Linked DNA regions of Homo sapiens: region 2 is linked to region 1. The links are contacts of gene promoters, found by promoter capture Hi-C in blood cells and fetal thymus (Javierre and others, 2016). All regions are on one chromosome and are shown on one strand. Each heading gives the region's core, a stretch centred on a gene start or on the middle of the fragment in contact. The rest is flanking DNA. Distances are from core to core; before and after follow the strand shown.

Region 1 (4,009 bases), core at 482-2,981:
TTTATGGGGACCGTAGTAGTGACTTGAAACATTTTATATATATATATGACATATATATGGAAATATATATATTTCATAAACTTTTTTCCTTAACATTTATTCAGAATAGTAAAAATAATGTTCACTATTGAAAAATTGGAAGTATAGGAGGATATAAAGTTTCAGGGGGAAAAAAAACAACACCCGCAATCCCACCACTCAGAAGTAATTACTGCCTGCATTATCTTTTCTTCATTGTTTTGACTAACTTGTTACTGATTGACTTCACTGCTTTTCAGCAAATGTTACTGGCCTTGAGTTGGATATGGAACTTAAATTCCATCTGGAATCATTCCTGGATGATTCTTTCAGAGTCATCAAGTACTGATTGAGTACGAGGGACTCCAGGGATGAATGCATCTGGGGGTCTAGGGTGAGGAAAATCCCAGCCTCAAGAGATCTTGTTAGTTAACCAGCTTAGCACCTCCTATTATGATTGTCATAGACATTTGTGTGTATATTTTAGTTCACATGTTAGGTGTTTTTAATGGTTTCATATTATTTTGAGTGATAGAATTTAGGAGAGTAAATGCTAGTAGAATCAGAGTTCATTAGTTTTTGACATGTTATATGCAAACACTTAAAAAAATTCCTGTGATGTTTGCTGAAGTTTGCATTTCCAGATACTCATATTCCATTTCTGTGTATTCTGATAGGAGGGTTATAATATCTCTGTTGTTGGGGCTATTGCTCTGGAGTATTTATCGATTAACTTTTGTTAATGATATACTCTGTGAAAGCACTTTATTAACTGGATTAAAAAAATTAATTGTAGCACACAGTAATGCGAAAATTTAGTTGGAATGTTGCCCTTATGGACAGTTATCATAGGCAGAATCTAACTCTTAGATGGGAACAGCAATCATGATCTCACAGGTCTCCTACAGCTCTGACAAATTCTTTCAAAATTAGTGAACTGCATTCTGGGTCTCTACTATAGAAGAGTCTCTGACTTCACGGGTTTCATGTTATTTCTACCCAGGAATCAGGATGCCTCACCCAAAGGCAGTTTTGACAAAATTAAAGTATATTGTTGGTGAGTGTCCAGAAGAGAGTGAAAACTGGGATGGCCTGGCTCAGTGTTGGTCTAGCAGAAACTACCTCTAGTGTAATTGTTTCCTTTCTCCCTCCTCTTTGTTTTCTGCCTCTATTTCATTTCTTTCTTTTCACAGTTTTTTCTTTTCTATTCCTCTCTCTTTTTTTCTTTTCTTAGGTTAGGCTTTCAGGGGCTGGAATGGGAGCAGAGTTCACCTGCCAGGAAGTGAGAATGGCAGGAAAGCTGGAATGGCAGTCCTTGGCTCTCCTGTGGTCGAGGTCTGATTACCTTCTAGGTAGTCATTGTGTCCCAGGAGATTTCAGAGAACAAACAGTGGAATCTTATTTAAATAGTTCTGTTAGGAGCATTAATGTTGTTTGTAGGTCATGGTCCAGATGGAAGCTGGCCCTTTTCTGACAAATACCTGGAAACATTTCCTTATTCTACTGTACGTTAGGATTTTGCAATCATTCTTTTCTGATCCCTAGCTTACTGGATAATCACAAAGGCTTTTTACTTCCTTTGTGCTGTAATATTGATCATCTGTGTTGGTTGGTTTACAGCCAACACACTGATCCGGATGCAAGCCGGAAAATCTAAGGGTTGGCAAATGATTCGTCATTTGCATAGAACAGCCTAGGACTCTTCAGAATGAACTTATGGAAGAGAGCTGTGGCATAGGAGCAGGAGAAGGTACAAGTTAGGGAGCAGTTTGGTATTGCACTTCATCTTTAGTTCAGCTTTGTTGCAGGGATCAAGACTGCAAGTTAAAGGGCAAGTTAGGGGGCACCTCTGTCTTTAATGAGATCATAGGATAAAGGCTTATTTATTTGTTTGTTTGTTTATTTATTGAGACAGGGTCTTGCTTGGTTACTCAGGATGGAGTGCGGTGGTGCAGTCTTGGCTTACTGAAGCCTTGACCTCCCCAGCTCAGACAATACTTCTGCCTCAGCCTCCCGAGTAGCTGGGACCACAGTTGTGCACTACCATGCCCAGCTAATTTTTTTTTTTTTTTGTATTTTTTATAGAAACGAGGTTTCACCATGTTGCCCAGGCTGGTCTTGAATTCCTGGGCCCAAGCGATCCACCCACCTCGGCTTCCCAAAGTGCTGAGGTTACAGGCCTGAGCCACCATGCCCGGCCAAGGCTTACTGTTCATCTCAGGTAGCGTCTGACATCGTGTGGACGTACGTGCGTTCAAATCTCCTCTCTGCCAGTTCTCAGTTCTGTGACTTTCAAGTAATTATTCAGCCTCTCTGTGCCTCAGTTTTCTCTTTTGTAAAGTGAGGATAATGGTACTAGCCATAGGTGAGGGTTGAAGGACACAGTGTCTGGCACATAATATTAATAAATATTCATTAATGTTTTACTCTTGGCTGTCCTGAACATTAGTCTGCTTTGACCTAGAATTCTTTTCCTGAAGACACGCTATAATTTTGATGAGAGTAAACAACTAACTCTTATTTGCATGTTCAAATAAACATGTTTTTATGAAGGTACTTGGTGTTCATTAACAAATGCTATACTTATGATTTTTTTTCTCTGAGACATAATACCAAACTTGTACATAAAATATTTCTGATCACTGATCTTCGCTCCTATAACTATAAAATTATATGTAAAATAGCTAAAAACTACTCAGTGCACTCTTTAGAATATATGTATTTCTCCTATGAGAAGCATCATTGAGATCTTTATTTGGGAAGCAATTAGGTTGCAAATTGAAAACAGTTTCCAACATCATCACCAAACTGAAAATGCCAAGTTGTCTGAGTCTAATGTCCAGAAGTCATTGTGGCCCTGTGGTCAGTGTTCTGCATTAGGGATCCCTGCAACAGAGCTGAATTAAAGATGAAGCACAGTAACCCAACACCTGTGTCAATAAGGGTGGATAATTTCTAGGGTTCCACAACGGGCTGTCAGTATCTTTCTCATTATTCCCCCAGCCTTTGTTTCACAGCCCAGTGGCTTCAGTCACTATGTCCATTTTCTTATCTCTTAAGGACTGTTCAACTCATTATATTTGGTTGCTTTCCCCATCCTACCCTAAACTGTTGTTATATAAGATCTTCTAAATTACCTTTCACGGCTAAACCCTGCAACTTCAGTCCTTGTCTTACTTGCTTTGTTGGCGTGTGTTATCACTGTCACTTTTCCTCTTGATTTTCCCTCCTCTGCTGGTTTTCCTTGTACCTCTTTGTCAGTGCATTGTTCTGCCCACCCTTGCAGGTTAGTGTGTCTTAACATACCATTCCTGACTCTCTCCTACTTTGTTCACTTTCTATGTCTACAACTGCAGTCACTCTTCCCTTGTGAATCCCAAAGCCTTGTCTCCAGTCCAGATTTGTTTCCTGAGTTCCAGACCCTGAGTTCCAAATGCCTCAACATTTCCATGTAGGTATTTCATAGACATCTCCTACTCCACATGTCCCTCCCTTCTATCATCTCTGTGTTTTTCCCCACCCTATTTCAAAGCAGGACCACAATCCATTTGGGAGCCAAAGTCAGAAATCTTGGAGTCATCCTATCGTCCTCCTTTCCCCTCACTCCTCATGTCTTCACCAGCAGGTCCTGCTGATTTTACCCCACTAGCATAGCTTTGGTAGCGGTGTCATCTCTTGTCCTTTCCTTGCCCACATCAGTTACCTTGTCCTGCCTGGGCTGTTATAGTAACCTCCTACCTGGTCTTCTGCTTCCAGTCTTTTTTTTTTCCATTCATTTGCTGCCAGTGAGTTTTAGCTGGAGTGACCATCTGATCATGTCAGATGGTCGCTCCTCAGCTTAAACTATTGGTGGCTCTCTCTTGCCCTGGGGGGAGTGTAAACTCTCCAGTGTCCCAGTGCCTTTGTGACTAGCACTTTCCTGCCTTTGCACCACATGCCCCCTGGCTTGTGTGTGTTTTGTAACCCAGCCATTTTGTACGGATAGTTTCTT
Region 2 (4,009 bases), core at 821-3,320, 540 kb before region 1:
GTGTGCTTAAGTTGTGGGAGATAAAGCTAGAAAGAAAAATAGGAGAAAAATCATAAAAGCCTTGTGTGCAAACGAGTCTGAATCTCAAAGCTACAAGAACTCTTTACAGTTTGATCCCTGAATTCTCCCTTTCCCTTCCTGATGCTGGTTCTTCTCCCTTATTATGGATAAAAGCATCCTGTATTTAAGCACTTCTTAGCTTTCTCTGTTTTCTGGCTCACCTCCTCCATTTTTTTCTCAAGTGTTTTTCCAATGACATGCTTTCTAGACTCACAATATCCTAACTGCCCTCATCTGGAACGCTAACGCCTCACGAAGGGACACAGAACTGGACACCAAAATGCACGGATGTTTCTTCTCTAGAGTACAAGGCATTATGAGAAAAGTTACGGAAATACCGGATGAAAATGACTTGCAGATGAAAAAGTTTTTATGTTAGTTTTGTAAATACATGAGTATATTTAGTAAAATCAATATATTCTCAAGAATATAAGAATGTTAAATAAACTTATTCTTAAGAATAAATACCAGTCTGTTAAACCAACAACTAGTGGAAAAGGAAGGAAGCACAACAGAATTAATTTGATTTTTTTCAAAGCTGAATCCGTTATTATGTACAAACGGAATATACAAATGTTTCTTTACAATTTAAACATGCTGATTCCTTGCGAATTCGGTTACTAAATCAAAGTCTGGGGAGGGGGCGGGGAGACCGATGGAAGATAAAGGCAGATCAAATCTAAGAGTCCACATCTTGTAAAACTATGGATTCACAGACATCGTCCTTTTGCAAACCCGGCAAGCCTGCCTTACCAATCTGGGGGTGTGTGCCCTTTTCACACCCATCACAGACTCCACCTGTGGACCAGGCACTGCCCCAGCCCAGCCCAAGTCTGCACCCCCTTATCCAGGAGAGGCAGGCGGCTTCTTTCGAGGGCAGCACACCCGGCTCTCCGACCATCAGCTGCATCCACCGCCGAGATAACTACGGAAGCCCAACGGCCAAGGCCGCACTCACCTTGCCGCAGCCCGGCGGCCCCCACAGGATAAGCGAGGGGATTTCGTTGGTCTCCAGGAGCGAGCGCAGCAGGGTATCCTGGCCCACGGCCTTGCTCTGCCCGAAGTAATCCTGCAGCGTGTCAGGACGCATCGTGTCGGCCAGCGGCTTGCCCTGTAGCATCTGTCGGATCTCCTCGGCAGCCAGCGCCCGGGGGTGCGGGCGGCCCCCGCCACTGGCCCCGAAGGCGGTGGCGGCTTCGGCAGCGTCCGCGTCCCAGTGCCCCGGGTCGTCCTCGCCGTCCGCGTCCGCGTCCCCGTCGCCATCGCCGTCGCCCACGGCCTCCTCCTCCTCCTGCGCCTCCGCCTCGTCCCAGCTGCGCGGAGACGCGCTCCCCGCCGCGGCGGCGGCCGCCGGCCTCTTCCCCGACCCCTTCCTCCCGGGGCTGCTGGAGCGGGCCACCGGGAAGTCGGGGATAAGGCGGGCGCCGCTGGGTGTGGGCGGCGCGTCGTAGCTCTCGCGGCTCTCGGTCTCGCCGCCGTCGTCGCCCTCCTCACCCTCGCCCTCGCTGCTCTCGGCTGCCGTCGGGGTGGCTGGCTGCTTCAGCGCCGAGCTCTCCGACAGCCGCCGCCTCTTGGCGCCGGGCGGCGAGGGCCCCTTGGCCCGCTCCCCGGCGCGGTGCGACCCGGCCGCGGGCTCCGCGTGCCCCGCCGGGTGGAGCAGCAGACAGCGGTCCAGGTGCGAGTTGATGTGCGCGGCGGGCATCATCTGCTGGCACACGGGGCACTGCACCTGGTGCAGCTGCGAAAGGAAGGGGTCGTCTTCCGGCCCGCTCACCTCCATGGCGGCCGCCGCCCTCCCCGGCGCCCGGCGCGGCCGCAGCAACCCGTGCGCACGCGGAGGCCTTCGATGCCCTCCGCTAGGCCCCGCGCCGCGAGACCCTCGCTCGGGGAACCAGCAGGACGCTCGCGGGCCGGAGGAGGGCGCCGCTCATGCCTCACGTCCGCAGCTCCCGCGTCCGCCCGCCCTCGGCCGGCCGCTGGCAGCGCCTCACGCGGCGTGTCGGGAAGTGTAGTTCGTGGCCGTTTGCCCCGGCGGCGGAGGCGCCTCGCGCGGCATGTAAGTAAGTGTAGTCCGTGGCCGTTTGCCCCAATCACCGCCGAGAATACCTCGCGCGGCACTTCGGGAAGTGTAGTCCGCGGCCATTCGCCCCAGCTGCCGTGCGTCCATTTCCGACTCTGAGAACAGCCTTTGCGGGGGCGGGGGAGGGGCGGGGGGGGGGGTTGCGAGGCGAGCGTGGTGCGCGTGCGCGAGGTTGCGCGGTGGCGGACGCAGCCCTCCGCCCAGGCCTGCGAGTCGCGCGAGGGCAGGGAGGAGCCACGGACTGCGCGAGGTTGTTGGAGCGGCGAGCGCCGCTTTCCCGGCCTTCCGTGCTGGGCTGTTGAATGGGCCTGTGGGGACAAGCAGGAGGCGGCCGCAGCGGGTCGTTTGTAACGAAAGGGAAATGGGGGAAAAAACCCAAAAGCCTCCAATAGAAAACCAGTGTTCTATTGGACGTGAACAGCAGAAAAAATACAAACAAGTACGCGAGTGAAAGAAATGCTCACCTCAGTAGTGGTCAGGGAAATGAAAATAAAGCGTCCCTCGCCCCCTTTTAGATGTGTTGGCGTTTAAGTCAAGGGCGGTTCACCTACAGCGCGCTTCGAGCCAAGAGATGCTTCTCGCGGGCCGCTGTGTAATAGTGGCAAATCGGAAACACCAGCCTTCTGTCTCCTTAGCAACCAAATGATGGGAGGCGCCCGTGTGCAATTACGTCCTAGACGGATAGAAATGGAAAGAATATCAGATTAAAACAAGTGTGGTAGTCTGCATCTTTGAATGAATTACCATGTTATTTTTTGCTTTTGTCTAAGTCTCCCGTTTTAAAACATGTATCTCAAAACAGGCATTTTTGGTAACTAGAAGAGGTAAATGAATTGAGGGAGAATGAAGACTTTTCCGAAATTTGGCCAAAACTTGAATTTTTATTTCATCTGGGCAAGAGCACATTGAGGGTCTCACTCGTTCTGTCGCCCAGGCTGGAGTGCAGGGCCGCGACCAGAGCTCACAGCCTTGAACTCCTGGGCGCCCGGGACCCTTCCGCCTTAGCCTTTGGAGTCGTCCTGGGGTTACAGGCTGAGCCACCACGCCTGGCTGGCTGGTTAAGAGTTGTTTCTAACTAAAAAAGTTAGGCTCAAAAATAAGATTAATAGAAACGCTAGAGAAACAAGTTAAACTTTAATCATCATGTAACGTGAAACTACCAAAAGAGGATCGTGAGCTTTCATTATTTTTTTGAGACGCAGTTTCACTCTTGTCCAGGCTGGAGTGCAATGGCGCAATCTCAGCTCACGGCAACCTCCGCCTCCCGGGTTCCAGTGATTCTGCTGTCTCAGCCTCTCGAGTAGCTGGAATTACGGGCGTCCGCCACCACACCCAGGTAATTTTTTTGGATTTTTAGTACAGACGGGGTTTCTTCCTCGAACTCCCGACCTCAGGTGATCCGCCCACCTCGGTCTCCCAAAGTGCTGGGATTACAGGCATGAGCCACTGCGCCCGACCGTGAGCTTTTTTTTTTCATTTGTCCCTCAGCAGTGAGAGGTGACAGCATTCTGGCAGCCCTCTCAGTCCTCGCTCGCTCTCAGCGCCTCCTCTGCCTTGGCGTCCACTCCGGCCGTGGTTGCGAAACCCTTCAGCCTGCCGCTGTACTATGGGAGCTCTTTCCTGGGCGGGCCAAGGCCGGAGCTGGCTCCCTCAGCTTGTGGGGAAGTATGGTGGGAGAGGCGCGGGCGGGAACCGGGGCTGCGCGCGGTGCTTGCGGGCCAGCGCGAGTTCCGGGTGGGAGTAGGCTCAGATAAGCCTCGCGCTCGGAGCGGCCTGCACCACCGGCCCAGGACGGTGAGGAGCTTAGCACTTGGGACAGCACTTCTCGCCAGGCCGTAGTTGCCTCCACGCAGCGCAAGGCTCAGGCCT

Evidence for each region. Contacts are between HindIII fragments. The CHiCAGO score rates a contact against its expected background, and 5 or more counts as called.
Region 2: a contact is called between the fragment with the promoter of WRNIP1 here and a fragment that was not itself captured in region 1, in 1 of 17 cell types (neutrophils). The highest score is 5.1, in neutrophils.

Annotation. Positions count from the first base shown.
Region 1 is chr6:2,223,247-2,227,255 of GRCh38, reverse strand. The region is part of intron 1 of GMDS (GDP-mannose 4,6-dehydratase); the gene reads left to right. Among named protein-coding and RNA genes, the nearest start is that of GMDS, 20 kb to the left of the region's middle. RefSeq lists a silencer at 207-501. The HindIII fragment of the contact is 6,028 bases long and covers 1-4,009 here.
Region 2 is chr6:2,763,454-2,767,462 of GRCh38, reverse strand. It overlaps WRNIP1 (WRN helicase interacting protein 1), which reads right to left and starts at 2,070. Exons shown (of 7, transcript NM_020135.3): 1 at 1,019-2,070. The coding sequence starts at 1,840. It also overlaps a transcript of MYLK4 not described here. RefSeq lists silencers at 1,150-1,469, 1,640-2,099, 2,260-2,309, 2,690-2,779 and enhancers at 2,234-2,528, 2,626-3,505. The HindIII fragment of the contact is 13,290 bases long and covers 1-4,009 here.